Regions from separate parts of the Homo sapiens genome. Here regions 2, 3, 4 and 5 are each linked to region 1. The links are contacts of gene promoters, found by promoter capture Hi-C in blood cells and fetal thymus (Javierre and others, 2016). All regions are on one chromosome and are shown on one strand. Each heading gives the region's core, a stretch centred on a gene start or on the middle of the fragment in contact. The rest is flanking DNA. Distances are from core to core; before and after follow the strand shown. Region 1 holds the start of ACBD3 (acyl-CoA binding domain containing 3). Region 2 overlaps LBR (lamin B receptor). Region 3 overlaps LBR (lamin B receptor). Region 4 has its middle 17 kb from the start of LBR. Region 5 overlaps ENAH (ENAH actin regulator).

Evidence for each region. The method cuts DNA at HindIII sites, captures the fragments that hold promoters and counts their contacts. A CHiCAGO score of 5 or more calls a contact.
Region 2: a fragment that was not itself captured here is called in contact with the fragment with the promoter of ACBD3 in region 1 in 1 of 17 cell types (neutrophils); the score reaches 5.8 in neutrophils.
Region 3: a contact is called between a fragment that was not itself captured here and the fragment with the promoter of ACBD3 in region 1, in 3 of 17 cell types (total CD4 T cells, non-activated CD4 T cells and naive CD4 T cells). The highest score is 7.8, in total CD4 T cells.
Region 4: a fragment that was not itself captured here is called in contact with the fragment with the promoter of ACBD3 in region 1 in 4 of 17 cell types (activated CD4 T cells, naive CD8 T cells, total CD4 T cells and 1 more); the score reaches 7.8 in activated CD4 T cells.
Region 5: a fragment that was not itself captured here is called in contact with the fragment with the promoter of ACBD3 in region 1 in 1 of 17 cell types (neutrophils); the score reaches 5.4 in neutrophils.

What each region holds. Positions count from the first base shown.
Region 1 is chr1:226,184,865-226,189,520 of GRCh38, forward strand. It overlaps ACBD3 (acyl-CoA binding domain containing 3), which reads right to left and starts at 1,877. Exons shown (of 8, transcript NM_022735.4): 1 at 1,526-1,877. The coding sequence starts at 1,811. LOC101927247 (a long non-coding RNA gene) reads left to right here and starts at 3,032. Exons shown (of 2, transcript XR_001738504.2): 1 at 3,032-3,069. It also overlaps the pseudogene RPL34P7. RefSeq lists silencers at 1,368-1,847, 1,484-1,778. The HindIII fragment of the contact is 12,408 bases long and covers 1-3,992 here.
Region 2 is chr1:225,400,030-225,404,685 of GRCh38, forward strand. It overlaps LBR (lamin B receptor), which reads right to left. Exons shown (of 14, transcript NM_002296.4): 12 at 4,597-4,656; 13 at 4,375-4,497; 14 at 1,473-3,434. The coding sequence ends at 3,274. Among named protein-coding and RNA genes, the nearest start is that of LBR, 26 kb to the right of the region's middle. The HindIII fragment of the contact is 2,389 bases long and covers 2,213-4,601 here.
Region 3 is chr1:225,422,298-225,426,953 of GRCh38, forward strand. LBR (lamin B receptor) reads right to left here. Exons shown (of 14, transcript NM_002296.4): 2 at 1,614-1,792. The coding sequence starts at 1,778. Among named protein-coding and RNA genes, the nearest start is that of LBR, 3.4 kb to the right of the region's middle. RefSeq lists an enhancer at 4,151-4,656. The HindIII fragment of the contact is 4,429 bases long and covers 1-3,778 here.
Region 4 is chr1:225,442,250-225,446,905 of GRCh38, forward strand. No RefSeq gene overlaps it. Among named protein-coding and RNA genes, the nearest start is that of LBR, 17 kb to the left of the region's middle. RefSeq lists enhancers at 2,387-2,456, 2,957-3,006, 3,902-4,462, 4,463-4,656 and a cis regulatory region at 2,561-3,100. The HindIII fragment of the contact is 389 bases long and covers 2,478-2,866 here.
Region 5 is chr1:225,488,691-225,493,346 of GRCh38, forward strand. ENAH (ENAH actin regulator) reads right to left here. Exons shown (of 14, transcript NM_018212.6): 14 at 1-4,656. Among named protein-coding and RNA genes, the nearest start is that of LINC02765, 23 kb to the left of the region's middle. The HindIII fragment of the contact is 2,064 bases long and covers 1,287-3,350 here.

The DNA of each region.
Region 1 (4,656 bases), core at 627-3,126:
CTTGGCTCACTGCAACCTCCGCCTCCCGGGTTCAAGTGATTCTCCTGCCTCAGCCTCCCTCAGTCCTGCAACAGAGCAGGACTCCAGCTCAAAAAAAAAAAAAAAAAGGAATTAGTTCATTTCTACTCTTACTCTCTGCTACAATATACTTTACTGAAAAATAAGTTCCAAGAATAAAAATTTAAGATGGAATGTAGCTATATGAATTGTACAGAAACCACCTGATTTTTATCAAGTGGTAATATATCATCACTACAGCAAACTCTAAATTCAAGCCGGTGATCTAAAAGTCAAATGATCCAAAACCCATTAGCCATTACCAATTCCCCAAGCTAGTTAGTACACAGAGGGCTCAACTCATTGTGCAATGACCACGAATATGTCATTGAATGTGAAATGATCAAATGTTCTGGAAAATTTATAAAACTTTCACTAGTTTGCACAATTAAAGTTATTTTGAGAGAAAACAACTTCCGTGTGTATCATTACATTGAACTACTCAACTTTGGCTAGTAAAATATGTACTCCAAAAGGTACTCCCTCTGGGGAAAGTGTCATAAATATGCTGCTCTGGAATGTACGTGGAACCTAGCAACCACTTTTAAAGTTGCATTTGCTGATGTCCCTCCCTGTCCATTCGCCCTACAAGACTAAGTATCTTTAAGAATCAAACTAACGGGCTTTCATCAGTTTTTCCCACTGACAAAAATCATGTGATTGGTCTCTCCACCATTCGACTAAGTGAATCACCCAATTAAAAAAAAAAAAAACCGCACACTACAATCTTGCTCTAAGACAAGAGACATTTAACAATTAATTATGCGAAAAGCACAGAAGGTACTGTTAGGCCTTACTCTGAGAATTCACTCTTGCACATTGCTTACAATGTAAAATTTTAACCACCTAGAAGTTACTAGAACATAGTGGACATCTCTCCTCAAGAGTTTGACAAGCCGGAGAGGATGATGAGCTTAACACTTTACTTCCTCCTCTCTGCCACATCAATCTGCCGGGGGATCAAGTCCTGTTCCAGTTTATGGTTCCCAAGAATGGCTGGAAAAGCTATGTATGGAACCTCTTGACAGATTTCTTCCACTAAGGGTAAAAATCGGCGGGTTCTGATGTGACAAGCCATGGGAAATAGGAAAAGAAAAGCGTCAGTTAAAAAAATAATAATAATAAAAGGCAATCCCAGAATGGGATCCTTTGGAAGAAAGTGGGCTCATTCTTCCACCAGGGCTCCTGGAAATCCCAGAAGCTAAATCAGGTAAAATGTCCCGGTAACCTCTGGGAGGCGGGACATGACTGCTAAACCAAGGTTGCAGGCCCGTCAGGGGTGTGACCTAGTGGCCAAGCGGGTAGTGACAAACTTCGGGTACCCCCAAGGAGGGAACCCCGCTTGAGTCACCACAGCCCAGTATGAGTGGGTGAGGGCAAGTCTGGTCCAGTCACCCTGGGGACCACAGCCCACGCCGGGCTCCCGGGGCCGGGCAGAAGCGGCGGGGGTGGGGCTGGCCCGGCTCACCTTTGAAGAAGCGCAGTGCCAGGCCGTACAACTCCTCCAGGCCGAAACCCCAGCGCTGCTCCAGCCGCCGCGCCTCCTCCGCCGCGCCCCCAGCCGCCGCCTCCCCGGGCTCGGGCTGCTCCCCTGAGGCGCCCGGGCCGCGACCGGATCCAGGTGGCGAGGGCGGTGGCAGCGGTGGCGGCAGCAGCGGGGCGCCCTCCGCCCCAGGCCGCTCCTCCGGGTCCGGGCTGAGCGTGAGGCCGTCGACGGACACCTCGAGTCGCTCTGCGTTCAGCACCGCCGCCATCTCCGGCTGCTGCACCTCCTCAGCGGGGACAGACGGCAGCCACGTATCGACTTCCTGCTGACCTCTGACCTCCGCTTACCGACACCGGAACTTCCGCTGCTGAGGAGGCTGGAGGGCTCCGGGAGAGGGGCTGAGGCCTGGCGCCCCACCCCCTCCGGAATCGTCAGTTGCCCTGGCTCAGCGACCACCCTTCAGGCTCCCCAACTCCCGTTGGTCCCGAACTCCCCTCCCCCGCACCCCATCCTTTCGGATCCCAGTTGCTCCAGGTGGGCGGGTGCTACCACCCCCACCGCTCGGTTCGGTGCTGCGGCTGTCAGTGCCCAGCAGGGGCGGGGTCAGTGGAGCCCCGCGCGGGGGTCGGAGTAGGGAGGATTGACGAGGTCGGCCAGCACCCAACCCTCCAGGTCAGAGGCCCTTCACATTTGCAGGGGCCTGCGTGGTTGGCAGAGCTCTTTTGCCCACCACCATCTCGTTTGGCCTTCACAGCAACTCTAAGGAAATGCAGGGCAAATTCCCAATTTTTTTAAAAGGGGAAACTGAGACTGCAGAGAAATTCAGTGACTTTGAGGTTGCAGACGGGGCTGATCCTGGTTTTGCAGGAAGCGCAGCTCATACAATTTGTGGGGACCCTCATTAGGAAAGAGTACAAAAAGTTACGCGCAGAAGGGTAGGAAAGTGAATGTATATTTAGAAAGAGAAAGAAAAAACAAATGATATTTTAAAAGTTAATAAAACCCACAAACATCACACACATAACCGTAATATTTTCATTGACTGCCTGATATTCTTCTACAGGGCGTCTGAGAGCCCAGAAACCTATTTTTTTCTAAAAGATTGAAGTCGCCCCCGACATTATGTATATTCACCTGTGTTTCCAGACTTTGGGAGCACCATTTATGATCATTTTTCCCACCTTTGTTTTGGCTGCGTACTTCTGATTGCCTTTTCCTATAACAATTATTTTGTAACTTTTTTTTTTTTTTTTTTTTTTTGTTTTTTGCAGACAGTCCTGCTGTGCCACCCAGGCTGGAGTGTAGTGGTGCAATTCGGTTCACTGCAACCTCTGCCTCCCGGGTTCAAGCAACTCTCCTGCCTCAGCCTCCCAAGTAGTTGGGATTACAGGTGCTCACCACCACGCCCGGCTAATTTTTGTAAACTTAGTAGAGTCAGAGTTTCCCCATGTTGGCCAGGCTGGTCTCAAACTCCTGACCTCATGTGATCTGCCCGCCTCAGCCTCCCCAAAGTGCTGGGATTACAGGTGAGAGCCACCGCGCCCGGCGTATTTTGTAATTCTCTATAAAGAAAAGAGAAAGATCAGTCTTTTCTCCAGCATGGCTGATTAAATTTGTTTCTTAATAATTGTTTATAAATTTATTTCAGCATCACAACTCATTACTGATATTGTTAACGTACTTTTTTAGGGTTATTGTTCAGTTTGGGAAACCTCTCTCAAGTTTCATGGATGTGCTATGAGATTTTTATGGCCGTTTGGCTGCTTCAGTGACAATTTTGTGTGTGGTTTTTACTGAAGCCCTAGAGAGTTTTTTTCTTTTTTTTGAGACGGAGTCTCTCTCTGTCGCCCACGCTGGAGTGCAGTGGCGCGATCTTGGCTCACTGCAAGCTCCGCCTCCAGGGTTCACGCCATTCTCCTGCCTCAGCCTCCTGAGTAGCTGGGACTATAGGTGCCCACCACCATGCCCGGCTAATTTTTTTGTATTTTTAGTAGAGACGAGGTTTCACCGTGTTAGCCAGGATGGTCTCAATCTCCTGACCTTGTGATATGCCCGCCTCGGCCTCCCAAAGTGCTGGGATTACAGGCGTGAGCCACCGCGCCTGGCCGAGGGTTTTTTTCAGGACAAGATTTGTATGCTGCATTCAGACAGGATCTCATTCATTACGGTGGATAAGACATATAACTTCACATACAGACAGACTCACTGTAGTACAACTATAAGTTTTTGTCCCATAAACATAGGGTTTCTAATCTATTCCCTTTTGCATGCTTCACATAAAAACATGAAGTATGGTGCAGTTATAATTGCAGATATGACTTAGATTCTCAGTGAGTGAGAACCTTCATTTTGATTAGGCATTGAGAGAATTGATCCCTCTCCTTATAATCTTCCACTTCTGATGGTTGGAAGCATATTTTTAAGTCTTTTAATTTTAATTACTCAAAGAAGCTTCATTTTTTATTTAGCTTTCTGACCCTGTGCTTGTGCCTTCAACACTCTCACAATGATTTTCTTTTCCTCGATAAGGAAAACATGCTTGATCCTGTCACAAACACATATAGCACACATGGAACCACCATAGGCCCTGCTGACATGGTTTTTTGTGTTTTGGACAATCTCATAAGACTTCGGGTCTTATAGCACGAACCCCTTGAAGTCTGCGTGGGTACACACCACAGTAGATTTTGGTGCTTTCCCAGCCTTCTTGGTATAAAGGTAAGCAATTATATTACCAGGGGTTCAGGACAGCCTAGTTTTATTAGAAGCTGTATTGTAGGAAAGCCTACAACAGTATGTCAAACGCTGGACCATTCTATGTGCCTATAGACAACATCCCCAGAAGAGGAAAAAGAATGGAAGAATTTTACTAGCTCTTTCTTTTCTTTCAAACCTTGTTGCTCCTCCACTACCCAAGTACTTCCTGTGTCAGGCAACATAGGGTTCCTTCGCCCTTTGGCCTTGCACTTTTGTGACATGGTGCTGGCTGAATTGACATAATGGGCAGTAGGTATATTCCAGAAAGCCATTCCTACACCCATGGTGAGCAATAATTTAAAAACATGCAGAAGTGACTGCAAACCACTTAAATGCATGCCACTGACCCCAAATTA
Region 2 (4,656 bases), core at 2,157-4,656, 780 kb before region 1:
AGGTGACAGAGCAAGACTCTGTCTTGAAAAAAAATTGCGGTCTGGCTGGGTACAGTGGCTCATGTCTGTAATCCCGGCACTTGGGGAGGCCAAGGCAAGAGGATCACTTGAGGCCAGGAATTCAAGACCAGCCTTGACAACATAATGAGACCCTGTCTTTACAAAAAATTGTTTAAAAAATTAGCCAGGCATGATGAGGCACCTTTAGTCCCAGCTACTCAGAGTCTGAGGTAGGAGGATGGCTTGAGCCCAGGAGGTTGAGGCTGCATTGAGCTATGATCACGCCACTGCACCCCAGCCTGGGCAACAAAGCAAGACCCCATCTCTTTAAAAAAAAAAAAAAAAAAAGTGCAATATGGTTCTGACTTCACTAGACCTCTCTGACCACTAAAAGCCAAATCCTGAGAATTTGGTAAATTCAATGTTCCTATAGGAAGAATGTTATTCTACTAATAATGGCTAACATAACTGAGCACTATGTTGAACACTAATAATTCCTATATCATCCTCAGGCCCCTCTATACTCTGTGGACGTATCAGCCAGATTTTATACATGAGGAAACCAGTGCTCAAAGAGATTAATTGCCCACACACACATTGCTAAGAGGGAGCACAGCTAGCATTTGAAGCCACATCTCACTGTCTCTTTATCATGGCAATGGTCCATGGGCAGAAAGCATAACCCACGTGTACACAAATGAAGATCCCAACAGTCCCCTCTCTCCATAGTAAGGGGGGTAGAAAAGGTGGGACTTGTACCCAGCACTAGACTCTTTTAACAGCCATGAACAAAACATGTATTTAATTGTCTAGGAAACTGTACCATCTATATTTAAGTAAATTGCACCTAGAAACACTCCACCTTGTATCTTTTGTTAAAATCCTATATTTCATCATTTGCTCCAAACAGTGCAAAACTAAACACCAAAATATAAATCGTATACTTGGTATTGGTGCATATTCTGACACACCCACATTTTGCAATGTAATGTCACAATGTAACGTCGCAGCAGGAAGAATTGAGAGGTGAAGCTGTCTGATCTCATCTCACAATTCAGGCTTAGAGTCAACTGGAAATCCAAACAAGCACTAAAGCACGGTCAGCAGGCACAGTACATGTGTGTGTCTCGTGTGTCTCTCACACACGTACTGTCTTTCAAATGCACAGATGCTTCTGTGATTCATACAAATGCATTTGAAAGTATGACTGGATCTACAATAGTTTTAGCATTTCTGTATTTTCTCAAACAGCAAATACTAAACACATGACCATTTTCTGGGAGTTAGGATTCCCAACTAACCCCTTTGAGTTCCAACATTCTGAGAGTTTTAAACAGCAGTTGGCCAGGGGTCCCAAACAGATGATCCTAGGAAAACAGGAGGCTGGGCAGGGGTGGGAATCTAAGGGCTCCTGTCTTGGTCCCAAAAATCTCAGTTTCAAGCAAGAAAGGGAAAAAAAAAAGGCTCCAAAGTGATCAAAATGTTGCTACATTTTATTTTCAACTTAAAACTTCATTATAAAATTTGCCAAATAAACATGTCAAAAACAAACTTAAAAACAAAGTGTAGCTGATATCCAGAAATTGCAGCACTGTATTGATAAAGGGCTCTTTTCATTACCAGGGAAAGAATTTAATGTCCTTCCTTCCTCCCCAAAAGCTTCCTTGGTGCAATCCAGTACAGAAAACGCCACCACTTTCTGATGCCAGGAGAAAAGCAAAATAAAAAAACTGCTTGCACACATTAGCACTGATAAAACAATGACAATTTCACTAAAAGAATGTTTAAAGACTACCGGATGCTGGAGCAAACCAACTTCATGACTGCATTAACATAAGCTAAGTTACATACACTTCAAATGCAGTATAGAATTAACACTGCATATCTAAATGGCTCATATATAAAATGTGTAATTAAAACCCAAACATACACACTATGTTTATTACATTCCCCTACATTGAAAGTACTGAGAACAATTTAACTCTGAACACAAAAGTTTAGTGAATTTGCTACTGTTCCATTACAGGACAATTAAAAATGAGACTATATCAACTTCACTAGAATTTAATTGCTAAAGCTACCTTATGCACATCTATTAAACTAAAAGAAACGACTTTAACCCCTTCAGTTGTTTTTAAGACAGCACTCCTTTACAGGGAGTCAGGTTTGGTAAATATAAAGGATACATAAAAAATACAGTATAAACTGCATAAGCTTAACAGTAGCAAAAACACTGATGAACTTTTAAAAAGTCAAAAATATATAAAAATATTAGCCTGAAATGGCAAATTTTCAAACACCGATCTGTGTAAAAATGTTTAAATATTGATGTTACTCCAAAAATATATACTTATTCTATTTTTTTTCTATTTGCAACAGTTTATAAAGGCAAACAAACACCTGCAATTGAGGTAGCAAAGCCAAATTCACAAACTTTGGATCAAGAAAAATACCCTTCCTATGTTTTAACAGCATCTTCTATACAATAGTGAATGAATTCTAATTGTTCCAAAATTTTTAATTCACATTACTTTACAAAATTTTATTTAAAATACTGAAAATGTTTTGTTAAAAAGACAGTTAGTCCTGACAATCATCTCACATTCAAAATACTGTACAAAAAAATCTGAAGTCACCATATATTACAAAAAACTAAGCTATGTATTTACATTTTCAATGTAGTTTTAGAAGTTGAGGTTAAGCCAACTGCTACAAATGGTCTCCTTTAAGCAGTGTCTGCTAATAATGTCATCACTTTTCACTTTCAGCATTTAATATAGGCCCTTCTTTTTGCTTTCAAATTATATAATTAGTAAAGGATTTAAAGAAAAACAAATGAAAATTCTATTCTCTTACTGAATAAAACATAAATGTACTTTAAATGGAACAGTGTTTTCATTTAAGAAAAGCCAACTGGCAAAAAAACATCAAAATTTGAAAAGTAATCAGAAACCATAAACATCAATAGCATTCTTCACAGTACATTTATATTAAGACTGTCTTCTGTTTTCAGATTAAGGGTTGAAAATTTCCCATTAAAATGCAAATTCTCACATCCTTACTTGTATTTTTCCTATGTTAACTGTAAGTTAATACAAGTAAACACGGCTATATTAAAAGATCAACTACTCGGCTCCATAGTCCTGACTCAAAAAGAAAAAAAAAAGTACAGACCCTGTCAGTGCAACAAAAGAAAGTTTCGGATTTTTTTCCTTGTTTTTGCAAATGGCAGCTGGAATTGCAGGAGTATTTTGTAGAAAAGCCAGAAGAGCATTAGTAGATGTATGGAAATATACGGTAGGGCACACGCTGACAGTACTTTTCCCAAGCCACGCCGTATTTCTTCTTACAGTGGTACTCGTCACGAGCTTCTCGGTGGACAAGCAACATGGTGAAATAAATTATGTAGAAATAAGGCAGAATGTGGTTAAAACCTGTGGATAATAATAGTACACAGTATTAGATATTTTTATTATCACTACAATGTATTTTTTCCTGCTTTCCCCCAAATTCTCTAAAAATGGAACCACAAGGTACTTCATTTTCTCTAATAATGATGAGAATAATTAAACAAGTCTGTAAAATCCCACTGGAAAGTGGCAGAAGGTCGTATCTAAATTAGAAGCTACTCAAAGACTGATGAATCCATTCTAACAATCCATCACAATCAAAACATCTGTCCTCATAGTTAATACACATCTCTTCATTTCTCGCCCTTCTTCCCCCAGCAAAGAAGAAAAACTGCTGTCTTCCACCACAGGCTGGGCCACCAAACAGGCAGCAGGCACGGGCCAGCTCCTCCACCTCCACCAGCTCCCCTGGATCCCCCTGCTCCCCCAGTTCCCCCAGCTCCCCCAGCTTCCCAAGATCCCCCTGCTCCCCCAGTTCCCCCAGCTCCCCTGGCTCCACCAGTACCTCCAGCTCCCCCTGACACCCCAGCTCCCCAAGCACCTCCAGCTCCCACAGCTCTCCCTGCTCCCCTGCTTTCCCAGCTCCCCACGAGGCCAGACACACAAAAAGAAAAACAGAATCTCTTTCTCTTCTTAAAAACCAAAGTTTTTCCCAATCTATGTACACTGAATCATGAATTAAGAAGCTGAATTAATTTCTATATATTCTACTTAGAAAAAAGCTATCAGGCACAGCTGAAAACTTAAAATAGTGCTTTTAGGCTTAAAGTAAAACTTCAGGCTCTGTGAATTCCCAATTCCCCTCAGAAGCCAGAGGAGCTTCTACAGAGGCCAACCTCACAGTAGAAAAGGGCGACAAAAAGACTCACACCCACCTTGGCCACACTGTCCCACACAAAGGACACACACACACATCTTTCTGGCGGCTAAAAGGGTCAAACTAGCACTCTTCTGAAATGCTTACCACATGGGAGGGACCACGCCAAGGCCATGATGAGATCACCCAAGTAATTGGGGTGGCGAACAAAGCCCCACCATCCAGAAACTAGAAGATTTTTTCCCGTTGAAGTATGAATGGTTTTTAAATCTATATAAAAATAAAAGTACATTTTTAATGATGTCGAGACAAAAAGAAAAATAAAACCTTCATGTAATATATATAATATAAACATAAATCAATACTTACGTGCAAGCTTTGGATCACTGGGATTTTTCCGGAATGCATTTTTCTGAGAATTTGCACCTC
Region 3 (4,656 bases), core at 314-2,813, 760 kb before region 1:
AAAGAGCTTTACCACAAATCATAACACATACAGACAGACCCACACTAGAAGAGGATAACAAAGGCAGGAACTGCTACCATTAACTCTAAAATCAGCACGGGAAATGTTAGGATCTGAGAATGGATCAGATGAAGCCAATGGAAAATGCTTTCATAATGATCCATCTTTCATGAGACAAATGCAGCCTTTCCATTCCTGTTCTTTGAAGGTATTTCCATGAAACGAATGTATCTAAACCAATTAGCTGTACTTATTTCCAACACCATATGCAAGAAGGGTAATAATTAACATGGATTAAAACTGAGACGACAGGACAAAATAAATAAGCACACAGACCAAAAAAAAAAAAACAGTACCACAGTTTCACTCTGAACAAAACACATAAGCAGATCTTGAAAATAAAACATGAGCTTGGATGACTGGGAACTGTTTCACTGTGTCCCCACCTACTCCGAATCTCCTTATGTTGCTTCTAGGGATGTAGACAAATTACGCCCCAGGCCAAGTCCCTCACCCCAATTTTTGTGTGGCCTTCCTACTAAGAATGGCTTTTACATTCTTAAATGATTACAAACAAAATCAAAAGAACAGTATTTCCTGAAGTGTGAAAATTATCCAAAATTCAAATTTCACTGTCCATAAAGTTGTACTGGAACACTGCCATGTCTGCTCCCTTCCATACTGCCTGGAGCCGCTCCCATAAAGTCTAAAATATTTACTTTCTGTGCTTTATTCCTGGTCTAGAGCACTCGAAGTGTCATCCTCAGCCATGGGTCCTAGAAATGCTCGTTACTAATCTGTGCAAGTACCAAAATTGAGAAATAGGTGTATGGAAATGTTTATAGCATTTTGACAAAGTAATCTCATATCTATCGAATCTGATAGTAAAACTGTGAGTCGTCTATTGTGTATGTCTTTATTTTTCTAGTAACTCATTTTTATGGCATTTTATATAAATGTTTGTATACTACGGATCAGATATCTTAAAACCCAGGCCCTCACCAGACAGGTTGAAAAGCCCTGGGCTAGACTCGAATCTAATTAATGTCACTCTCCTGATTAAATCCTTGGTGTTCAGGATGAAGCCCAAACCCTTGGGCATGGAATATAAAAGCCCCCCCAGCCTGGCTCCTGCTTAGCCCTCCCCTACCACCCCCTTCCAGCACTTGGCTGACTGTGTCCCCCAGACCCCTGACTTTGGCATACTGCCCTCTCTGCAGAAACAGCCCCATCAACTGCTGTTTTTCCTGTTTGTTCTCAGCACTTGGCTAGGTGTCACTGCCTCTGAAAGCCTCCCCTGAAGCCCAGGGCTCTTCTCTACCCTTGATACACTCAACACCACCCACAGCAAACTCCAGACACAGAACGTAGTAAACCCAGGGGACCAACAGATGCAAATGGCTGTCTTTCCCAGTAAGTGTGAGCTTCTTGGGAACAAGGACTATGCCTCATTCATACATTCCCAGAGCCAAAAACAGTATGTGACCCAAAGCAAGAGCTCAATCCTCTGCCTTCAAACCGAGCTGAACTGACTATCCTGAGCTTAGAAACCATACTTAGAGTTATTTCCCACTTACTGTAAACACACTCTGATAAACCAAAGGAGCTCTTACCTTAATATCATTCTCTTTCAATTCAAGCTCTGTTCCATCTTTATACTTCACAGTGTAAAGCTGGGAGGTGCTGTCGTGGCTCAGAATTTCTACTTCATAATAAAGTGAACTCCCAGGCCATCGACCTCTTACCACTTCACCATCGGCAAATTTCCTACTTGGCATTTTCTATAATTAACCTGAATAGTTTTAAAGAAAAAAATTTGAGTCAATACATACACATTTATGTATTCGTCTTTTTCCACAGGCTGATCACTAAAATACAACTTTCCAGAATTGACTGGTCAGGATTTTAGGGCCAGAAAGGCTACATTCAATCTCATTTGGAATCATTTGAGAGGATGATTTAGCCACTGCGTTATCTATGTGACACTAAAGATTAATTATAACAATGTATATAGGCGCCATAAGTTCACACTATGTAAAATGTTACCCACCTACCGTGATCACAGTTCTCGCTAATCAAAAAATGAGGCACAATCTCACAAAGAACACATTTTCTCATTTGTAAATTTGCGTATCAATTTACAATGGCTTTAAAAATGCATTTAATTGTATTTTTAACAAATTGCCTTTATTAAAAACAGCAAACTATAAACCAGACTGGGAAAATCAAGGATGTACAATTAACATGACTATAACCCAACAATAGGAAGAAAAATAATTCCAAGTCTGTAATGAATAAATTTGGGGGTTATTTAGCTTTCAACTCTTACAGCTAAAGTACAAATGCATACCAAGTAACTCTGCCAACCACCCACCTAAGCCAGGGTGGTTGCCTTCATCCAAGCTCACTTCTCTCAAGCCTACAGCAGCCATCAACCCCCAATTATAACATTCTTTTCCTCTGATTCAAAACATGGCCCACAAGCCCCACAATACTCTAGGAATCCACAAGCAATCTGCAAGAACTGCCACTTACGTGAGGCCTGTCTGCCACCCTTTTTGAAATATCAATTGATAGCTGGGTACTTCCAGCTGCCAGACAGTAATGCCGCTCCATCGGCTGACCAGCGGAATCACATTTCCACACAACAAAACCAGGGCTGCCGACCTTCCCCAGTACCACATGAACTAGCTGGGGCCACGTCCAAGGGGCAGCCAGTAGGACAGATATGAGCTGTCTCCCAAATCACCTTCATTTCACCAACTAAGCACTTCTTGATGTATTGTCCAAGCCTATCAATGTACATTCCTCACTGGCTCCTGTTAAGAGCTGATGATACAATAAAAGCAACATTTAGGAACCTTTGAAGACTCTGGAATTAAGGAGAAAGTTGAATTACCTACCCCAAGGGAGTAGTGGGAGAGTGGGGGGGGAGGCGGGGTGAGGGAGGCCTTTCTTAACCACCACATTTTTTCACTGTTAATCGTCTGTGAAAAAACTTAACAAGCTCTACTAGTTTACAGAGATGGCAGCTAGGTTGGTAGATGAAAGAAAACACAAGTACTTATCTGGTGATTAGAGGATGTCAGTCAATTAACACATTAGGTAAGAGAGGCAGCTTTCTTCCCTACACCTACCTGAGATTGGGCATCACTGGGGTAATGAATGGGTTTGGGCTTGGAGTAGTGGGGAGGAGCCCACAAGTTTTCGGGATGAAGTCAGGCCTGGCTGAGTCACCCGAGGGGCACTTAGGGAGCAGGGGGGCAGTGAACACCTCTGCATGAGCAGGGGCATAAAAACGGAAGGTGACAACATCCAGCTTTGCCTATTTCAACATTTAGCTCAGAGCCTCCAAGTACAAAGAAAGAGGAAGGAAATGTACCCTCCTTCTCTCTTCTCTTGAGCCCCCTCCTCCTCCCTAGGCCCCCCAAAATCAAACCACTCTTACTAGTACTAGCTCTCCTACACTGGTCAGCCAGAGTTAAAAGAAGGCAATTATGTCTTCCTACAGGAAGATGCTCAAGTTGCAAAAAACTCTTTATAAACTTTTGAAACACAAGCCCTTCAGGACGCAGGGGCTACTTGAGGTTTTAAAAGACCCTTGAACAGTTTCTGCGTGTTCTTAAAAACTTATTTACTGGCATCTTTCCATTGCACTTACACACCACATACACAGTATCTGTGTAATATAAACGCAGGCCAGTGCCAAAAAGATTCTTATCAATTATTCTGGGTTAAACAAGTTAACACATATGGTGGATACCTGTTAGGTCTCTAAAGCTTACTTTTTAAAAGAAGAATTAAGATTTGCTTGAAAAACAAACAAAATGAACCGGCATTCTTCTTAGAAGACCATTATCTTATACACAAATGTTCCAAAAGATGAAGCCAACAACATGATGTGCACCCCCACTTTACACAAGATCCACACACAATTGTCAAACGTGAGGATACAGTGCAATCACATCCTAATATATTCCCCCACAGGAGTGAAATAGCCAGGATGGCACACAAAAGCCCCACATTTGTTCGTGTCACTCACTATGCACTCACCTACAGGAGTCAAGATACACACAGGATTTTCTTACAAGAGATGTTTTAGGCAAGTGTGTTTGTAAAGAAAAATTTTGTTCACTGCACCCAATGTCCTCATTCGCCATAAACAGGAAAAACACGGAGACCCTCAGGTTTTTCTCTATTAAGCCAGATGCCCGCTAACTTCAGAGTCAACTGGCACTGCAATCCTCACACATTCCAGCTCCGGTATGTTACTGTTTGTGAACACAACAATTCTCTGCTCATTAACATTACAGGGGTCTCCAGCCATCTTTCCTTCACTTCTCCAAATTCATCTAAACGTGGCATAGAGCAAGACGCTCGAATGACGTTGGACAGCTTCCTTTTCACACCTGAGCCCCGGTAGCCCCACTAGGCAAAATGCAAACAGGAACCCCGGGCCTTGCTCCGCGCCCTTTGCTTCATGAAGCAACAGAAAGGCCACCTTCCTGGCTGTAAAGGCAGAAGCGCCTTCTTCCCCATAAACATCCTTGGGCAGCTCATCATTCCCCTCCTGCTCGTTCTTCTCCCTCTTCCCAGGCAGCCTGAGAAACAAAACTTAAACTGGACTTGTTGCCTAATCTAAATTAGGATCCCTCT
Region 4 (4,656 bases), core at 1,422-3,921, 740 kb before region 1:
TGACACAGGGAATGAGTGCCTTCTCCTCTGCAGAAGGAGGAACACCCTCCACCATGATGCTCTCCAAAACACCTGCACAGAGCACCCTGCTGGATGCCAGAGCCCTGTGAGGGCTTCCTGGTGCAGGTGAGGCCCGGCACAGCCAGCAGAAGGACTTATCCTGGCTAACAAAGACTTGTGTTACATGTCCCCCTTCAAAACTGGTGCCACATGTCTGTGTGACCTACCTGCTGGCCTCTCACTGCTAACTGAAGACAGGCACTATTTCCCCACCATAGTGGTCTTTTTGTCCTTCTCATGATTTATTGGATGCATAAAACAAACACATGAGCTGGCTCACACCTGTAATTCCAGGACTTTGGGAGGCCGAGACGGGCAGATCACGAGGTCAGGAGTTCAAGACCCATCTGGCCAACATAGTAAAACCCCATCTCTACTAAAAATACAAAAAATTAGCTGGGCATGGTAGCAGGCACCTGTAATCCCAGCTACTCAGGAGGCTGAGGCAGGAGAATCCTGTGAACCCGGGAGGCAGATGTTGCAGTGAGCTGAGATCACGCCACTGCACTCCAGCCTGGGCAACAGAGCAAGACTCTATCTCAAAACACACACACACACACACACACACACACACACACACACACACACACACGGAGGGCCAAAAAAAAATGGTAAGGAAGAAGAAGAATGGAGGCAGAAAAGATGCCACCCTGGAGAGGTGACCTGGCTGCTGTGGTAACGTGGACATGCTCAGCGCGTTTCAGGACTGTTAGGTTTCAGGGTCTGCCCACCTGCCTCTCCTGAGAGGGGGGCGACAGAGAGCTGGCTGCGTGCAGGGCTCTCCTGGGAATCTGGGCTCTCAGCCAGGCCACCCCACAGAAGTGTTCAGGGGCAGGGAGTTGTATATCCTGGAATGACTATTTAGAAAGGATATAACAGAGGGGAGAGAAAAATAAGGAAATGTGAGGAGTTAGGTCAATGCTTGCCCCTTCCCACGGGCCCACCCATGGTAACGCTGTGGCTCGCTGCAGGCCAGCCAGTATCTGGGAATACAGAGACGCATGATAGTGTCTTTCTACTCTGATTACAACTCCACTAGGTGCCAGCATTTTGCATGCAATCGCTCTATTAATCCTTTCAATGTCCTTGTGAGATAGGTCCATTTATCCCCATTCCACAGGTGAAGAAACTGAAAGAATGGTTGAATGACCTGCTCCGGCTGACACACGGAGTGAGTGGCTGAGCTGGGAAGAGAGACCAGTGGCGTGTAACTCAGAGTCCACGGTGTGTGATGTATGAAGGACTAAGAGAGACCAGTCAGGAGCAGCCGGAATCCCATCTGGAGCCTAAAGAGTTGTCTTTGGTGTAGAAAGTGTCTACCCCACCCCTAATTATATATCCAGTGAAGGCTGTTGCTTAACGTGGCTGTTGGCTCATAAACTGTAAGCACTATGAGAGCAAGTCTTTTCATCTGTGACCTCGATGTCCCCCTTGGTGCCATGGGCTGTGCCCATGTGCGCTAAATACACATGATCAGCCTATTGCTGTTTGGCCAGCTGTCTTTTTTTTTTTTTTTTTTTTTTTTTTTTTTGAGATGGAGTTTCGCTCTTTTTGGCCAGGTTGGAGTGCCATGGTGCAATCTCAGCTTACTGCAACCTCCACCTCCTGGGTTCAAATGATTCTCCTGCCTCAGCCTCCCAAGTAGCTGGGATTACAGGCATGCACCACCATGCCAAGCTAATTCTGTATTTTTAGTAGAGATAGGGTTTCACCATGTTGGCCAGTCTGGTCTCGAACTCCTGACCTCAGGTGATCCGCCTACCTCTGCTCCCGAAGTGCTGGGATTACAGATGTGAGCCACCATGCCCAGCCACCCAGCTGTCCTTTTAGGACACTTTCTGTACTCTCTGTAATAACAGAAGTCCCACACCAGGGCTGACTTTATAGAACCCTAGTTCCAAACTCTCTTAGTTCTGTCAGGAAAGCATTTGCATTTTTTTTTCTCCCCCGAGACAGGGTCTTGCTCTGTCACCCATGCTGGAGTGCAGTGGTGTGATAGCTCACTGCAGCCTCAAACTCCCCCAGCTCAAGCAATCCTCCCACCTCAGCCTCCCAAGTAGCTGAGACTACAGGCATAAGCCACCACACCTAGCCAGAAAAACTCTTTCTTTCTTTCTTTCTTTTTTTTTGAGATGGAGTCTTGCTCTGTCACCCAGGCTGGAGTGCAGTGGCTCGATCTTGGCTCACTGCAATCTCTGCCTCTCAGGTTCAAGCAATTCTCCTGCCTCAGCCTCCCAAGTAGCTGGGATTACAGGCATGCGCCATCACGCCCAACTAATTTTTGTATTTTTAGTAGAGATGGGGTTTCACCATGTTGGCCAGGCTGGCCTCGAACTCCTGACCTCAGGTGATCTACCAGCCTTGGCCTCCCAAAGTGCTGGGATTACAGGCGTGAGCCACCGCACCCGTGCCAGAAAAGCTTTTTTCTTAATAGCTCCCCTGGGAACCTCAGTTCTACCACCGAAGGTATACAATCACTCCAACAGATAACAAATCGACATTGTCGTGCATAAATGTAGAGCTGATCCGTATTTCATGTCAAAGGCCTGGACTGTGTGAAATTGGCTGGTATTTGTTCCAGAAGCACTTGTTCATGTTGAAGATGGGGCAGTTCTGAGTGGGTTAGCAGGCTGACGAGCTTGGCTCAGAAGCCGCTCACTATTGTTTGGGCTTTGCTTTTGACTTCACATCCTGAAATAAATGGTCGTTGCAGACCAGGCACGTGAGCAGGAAGTGGGCAGGGCTTAAAACACAGAGAAGTCATAACCTCTGCGGTTTGGTTCATGTTGTAATATGAAAACCAGGAAGCTTATCTTGCAGGAGGCTGATGTGTAAAAGTTCAGAATGGAGTGGAGCCCTCCCTCTTGGCACCCTATGCGCGGAGTCACCCTTTGTCTGCCACAGGAAGCACCCAGGTCCTGGCAGCTAGAAAACTGTAACAACTTGGAAACATTTCCCAAAATGTCATCATGGCATCAAAATGAGACAATCAATTTCTTGCAAAATTGTTTGCAAGAATACAATTTGATCAAAAGTAGAGTTAGACTTTTTTTTTTTTAAGACAGTTTCGATCTTGTTACCTAGGCTAGAGTGCAATGGTGATCTCTGCTTACTGCAACCTCTGCCTGCCAGGTTCAAGCGATTCTCTGCCTCAGCCTCCTGAATAGCTGGGACTACAGGTGTGCGCCACCATGCCCAGCTAATTTTTGTATTTTTAGTAGAGACGGGGTTTCACCATGTTGGCCAGGCTGGTCTGAAACTCCTGACCTCAGATGACCTGCCTGCCTCGGCCTCCCAAAGTGCTGGATTGTAAGCGTGAGCCACTACGCCCAGCCGAGTTAGACTTTCTCTAAGAACAGCCCCTCTGTGTGTTTTAACTTAAGTGAGAAACAACATGGGTGAGTCAGTGGTTGAAGGCAAGAGAGACACGGGAGAGACACTGATGCCCTGTCCATCCCTTCTCTGGGCCTCAGGGCATTCCAGCAGGTAGAGAACTCCACCCTCCTGCCTGCCTATCAGTCTGCTTGGTCTTGAAAGTCTGCTGCACAGAGTGGGTAGTGGCCATCTGAATCAGTGCTAACACAAAAGCTAGACAGCAATGCTTACAGGCTAGCCAGGAAAATGTTTTTACCAGAAAATTGCTTGAGAAGAGAACACAGAGTTTCAGTAGGGACATGACGATTGAGGATGGAAATGCTTGGTGAAGCAGAACATCCTGGCGTAGCCACAAGAAAACACAATAACCTTAAGGCAGTCACTCGAAGGCATCCTGGAGCCCCAGGCAGGGAGCATTTCACTTCACCAAGGCGTCTGGGGCCATCAAGTGGGAGAAAAAACTGAAGCCTAAAGCTCCTGCTACTGCTCTCTGAGCTCCCAGATCCCTGTACCTGACACCTGCCACACCTGGCTCGGCAGGTAACTAAGACTGGAAGAACCAGATGAGGAGTGGCTCTGCCACACTTATTTGAGAAAATGTCTGAGTAGTATCTGTCCAGCTAGGTCTTCCTGAGTTTCCCATGGCTCTTAAAGATTAGACATCATTAACTGAGTTTCCCAGCAGCACACCTGCCTGAGGTAGATTACAGTGTGGACTATTCCCTGTGAGAAGCTTCCTGCAGCATAGCGCCAGGGAAGGGCTAACCAAGATCGTGTCTTTGCAAAACACCTTTCAGACTGCAGCACCCCCAGGGTGAACTTCAGAGTCACTTTGATCTCAATTAGCATTCTTGGATATTATAAACAAACACCTAGACTCCCAGGGAGGGGAAAATCAGTACCCCAGGAAAATCACAGGAGATGGAGTTCTCAGGGCTTTATCACAGGCTGGCCATCGAAAGCCACAGGGAGCCCTCAGGCTAGCCAGGGTCACATCTCACCTCTGCCCAGCCACCCCAGGTGTTTCCTAGAAGCCCCCCCTTTTCCCGCTTTGGCCTGCCTGGCTCTTTTTGGCTTCTGAAAACAAAGAGAGGAGCTGTGTGCAGTCAGCCTGAGACACGTGGGAAGATGGTTGCTGCCCCTGCTGGCCCTAAAGCTCCAGAAAGCCAATGCCACCGTGCAGGCGGTGGAGAGCATATTCTGATATGGGAGGAGGAGGCG
Region 5 (4,656 bases), core at 1,069-3,568, 700 kb before region 1:
TCATGCTAGCAAGAAATGAATCCCAAAGGACACGCACCAAGAACCAAAGTAAAAGAATGTCAGCAAAACAGGACCCATCTTTTATCATCCCAAACTGCTATTTCCATCTCTGACTTTCTGCCAAATTATCTTTATCTTCCTAAGACGAAGCAAAGACTCAGAGCCCTCAAATGGCACGGAAGCGGCACCTGGTCTGCCAAGACATTGCTGTTAAACAGAGTCTTTTGGATTAAAACCAGGGAACTCGGAAGGAATGACTACATGGATATAGATGGATAAGATGGAAGATATAAAATAAGAAGGGCAGGAGGGTAAGATTATTCCTTTTTTCCTTTCAAGGCTGACAGTGATAGAATAAACAGCAGCACAGCAGGTTCAGATGATATGAAAACCACTGAATTCTGCCCAGGAATTGAAAGAAGGGCTTCTTCACTTCATCGAGCTCTGGAAAGTCTGTTTACTTAGAAACAGCTCTTGAACTACAAGAGTCAAATGGACCTTCTGCTATTCATATAATTGGAGCATGGATCTCGTGTGGTCCCATTACATGATTGGAATCAGTCTTTCTGAACGGCAGAATGTGCTTCCAGGTTGAAGCACAATGGAGAATGTACTGAAGCCACCACAGAGATGCTGGTAATTCAAACTGTGAAAGCACGTGGCGCAGAGGAAACTGACACAGAACAGCACACCACTGGTGCTTTATGCAACACCACTGACCCCAAGATGGTCACTCCATTGATTTTTCCGCATTGTTTACATCCAGGATGCATGCTGTCCAGTGCAATAGCGTCTATGACTATAAAACAACTAAAAGCTGCACTTAAGATGGGAGAGCCAAACTCAGATCTTTTTTCTCCTTCTCTTCAAAGATCAAAAGAAGAATAAACCAAAAAAGATTAAAAAAAAAGAATAAACCAACCAGTAGCTGCCGAGAATACAGTGAAAGAGGAAATTCAGAACTCAACTTTATCGGGGATGGGCACGGTCGCTTATGCCTGTAATCCCAACACTTTGGGAGGCCAAGGTGGGTGGATCACCTGAGGTCAGGAGTTCGAGACCAGCCTGGCCAATACGGTGAAACCCTGTCTCTACTAAAAATACAAAAATTAGCCGGGTGTGGTGGCGCATGCCTGTAGTCCCAGCTACTAAGGAGGCTGAGGTAGGAGAATCGCTTGAACCCGGGAGGCAGAGGTTGCAGTGAGCTGAAATCACACCACTGCACTCCAGCCTGGATGACAGAGCGAGACTGTCTCGAAATAATAATAATAACAATAATAATAAAAAGCTTTATCTATCCTTGCTTGTATAGTGGCAAGGAAAAAATAAAAACAAAACAAAAAGAATTTAAAAAAAGAACTCAACTTTAGAGGTAGAAGGCTCAGAGAGAATGACTGACTAGCCCCACAGCCTGAAAACTGGTAAAGTCAGTCCCAGTCCAATGACCTGCCCACAACTCCACACACAAAAAAGGACAGACTGAGAGAGACTGAGGGCGGGAGGAACACAGAGAAAGGGAAATCAAGTCCAACAAGGTGGCAAAGACATGGACTCAATAACAATTTTTACCATGTTTTCTTTCAGAAACAAGGACATTTTATGTGAGGATCAAATATTCTCCCTTCAAAAACTTCTGCAATTGAAGGCCGAGGCGGGCAGATCACCTGAGCTCAGGAGTTCAAGACCAGCCTGGGCAACATGGTGAAACCCCATCTCTACTAAAAATACAAAAATTAGTCGGGCATGGTGGCACGCGCCTGTAGTCCCAGCTACTTGGGAGGCTGAGGCAGGAAAATCCCTTTGAACCCAGGGGGGGGAAGTTGCAGTGAGCCGAGATCGCACCACTGCACTCCAACCTGAGTGACAGAGCAACACTCCGTCAAAAATTTTTTTTTGCAATTGAAACTTAAAATGATCAAGCCCAAAGTACCTCTGGGAAGGACACCAAATTGTAAAGTCCTGACTCAGGCCTGAACCTCCCATCCCTCTAGTAATAAAGAAGAAAGGAAATGCTACCTAGATTTTAACAGGGCTTTCTTCTCAATATCTAAGCCTTCCCAATTACTTTCCTCAGATAAACTATAAGCTATTCTTCTCCTGGAAATTTAAGTGGCAAAGTCAACGTCTTTTACCAACCATCCATGGGCTATTGCTGAGTTGCGGAACTAGCCTACAGCTAACTCAAATTCATCACCTCAGACTCACTGTGATGCCCAACCACTGGCACTGGGGTGGCCTTATGACTTACGACAATCAAATGGGGTTTGTGAATCCATGGTTAAGCTAGCCTGCCACCAAGGATGGACAAACCTCAGACTTGATCAATGGGTGGAGGGAAACTCCATATTTAAAATGCCCAGTGCCTCGGTCAGCAGAACCAACCAAGTGACACCTGAGATCAACTGGTAGTAATAATGAAAAGCTGGTATTTCTCACATAAAACACGTTGAAAAACATTTATTTATTTAGAGATGGAATCTCGCTCTGTCGCCCAGGCTGGAGTACAGTGGCGCGGTCTTAGCTCACTGCAACCTCCACCTCCTGGATTCAAGCGACTCTTCTGTCTCAGCCTCCCGAAGAGCTGGGATTACAGGTGCCCACCACTATGCCCAGCCAATTTTTTTGTATTTTTAGTAGAGATGGGGTTTCATCATGTTGGCCAGGCTGGTCTCAAACTCCTGACCTCAGGTGATCTGCCCACCTCAGCCTCCCAAAGTGCTGGGATTACAGGCGTGAGCCACCATGCCCGGCCATGAAACATTTATTTTTAAAATGCCTTTAATCTTTAAAAAAAAAAATAAAAGAAAAAGAAAAAAAGAAAAGAGGTTTCACAGATGTGACTAAAGCATGGACTGTTAGGCGCTTAAGAGACCAAATTTTTAAAAGCGTTCTGTAATGTATCTCTCTTATATGGTTGCAACAATGTGTATTTTAAGTGTAAGCCAAGAACCTTTTCTCTCAGTTTCTATAGACTTGGATGGAAACTTTTGGACTTGATGGGAAAATTAACTCTCAATCTAAACACTAGCCAATGTAGACTTTTTCTTCTGAGTGCTTTTTCCTATGGAATTCAAAGTACCAACTATTCAATTCTCGATTTTCTAAGCCTTCTTAGAAGAATAACTATTTACTAAAACCCAACCAAACCAACCTATAACATCATCCATCTCCTTTATTAGTTATTTCTTTATGCTTTTAGAATTGTCATCTACTGCTGAAGAAATCTTTCTTGGAATTGAAGGGAACAGTTAAATCAGATTTACATGATAAACTATGGGTTGTCATTTGTATATAGAACTTTTACGGAATAAATGTAGTCTAACAAACTGGGCTCTCTAATGAAATATGTAAGCTTTTCTAATAATTTCTATGAAAAGCTATATTCTCTTAGAATTTTTTTTTTTTTTTTTTAGAGACAGGTTCTCGCTCTGTCACCCAGGCTGGAGTACAGTGGCATGATAACGGCTCACTGCAGCCGCGTCCTCCCTGGGCTCAGGTGATCCTCCCGCTTCAGTCTCCTGAGTAGCTGGGATTACAGGTGTGCACCACCATGCCTGGCCTAAATTTTTAAATTTTTTTGTAGAAATGAGTCTCCCTGTTACCCAGGCTGATCTCAAAACTTCTGGCCTCAAGCAATCCTCCCGCCTCTGACCAGTTTACCGAGCTATTTAGATGTCCTAACTACTAGGAATTATATGTCTTTAAAAACTGAGGAAAAAGAACAGCACTACTCAAATGGTATATTCTTTTTACTCTCAGCCACCAACTGGGGCCCCTAATTTTCTCCCTCTGCCTAGAATTCCTGTGTCCTACACCAGAAGCGTCTACGGGCCCTGCTCTCTGCTCTTTATGAGTATTTAACATGCTTCACAGAACGGGGGTGCAGCTCAGTGACTGTGATTCTTTGGTTCAAACACTTAATTGGGGCTTCATCTTTGATTTTTTCTGCATGTTAATCTGCAAATACTCAAGGCCTACTATGTGCTTTAAATGATACTAACACTTCCGTTTAGAAGGTTGTGTGCATCACAGAGTATCTGTAACGGGGACAGTCCTATTTCCCTTTCTCAATTTTCAGATGTATCGATTCCTTCAGATTTCAACAGAAATAACCAATAAATGTGGCAGACATTCTTACAACATCCTAAGTCATTATGACAGTCATTTATCCTTTTACAATGTTTCTGTTACTTTATAAAGAAAACTATTTAGAAAGACAAATTTAGTTAATTCTTTAGCAGTTGTCAAATGTGTCTCCTCACCAAAAGATTTTACTCTTATGTGACTTGACCATTAGTATTCCACAAATAATTTATCCTAGAACTCCATTTATTTATGTTGATGGTGAGTATCTGTAACCATCCTAAATTTACTGCATTAATATTTTACTTTTCTTTCTAATCAATTTTAGGTTTTAATTTGAAGGTTTCATCTTTCCAGTATTGATATTTTAAAAAATCTTGATGTCTCAAAAATTATCGAGAGATAACATAAAGGGGAACACACCAAATAATCCACAGCTTTTGATGTTGGGAACAGAAAAACCTGCATCACAGACCTCCAACAGTTCTTGGCTTCTATAAACGGACTTTCTTGAGGGGTTACTGACTTCAGCTGCTTAGTCAAATCTACAAATCCTCAAAAGAAAACTCTTCT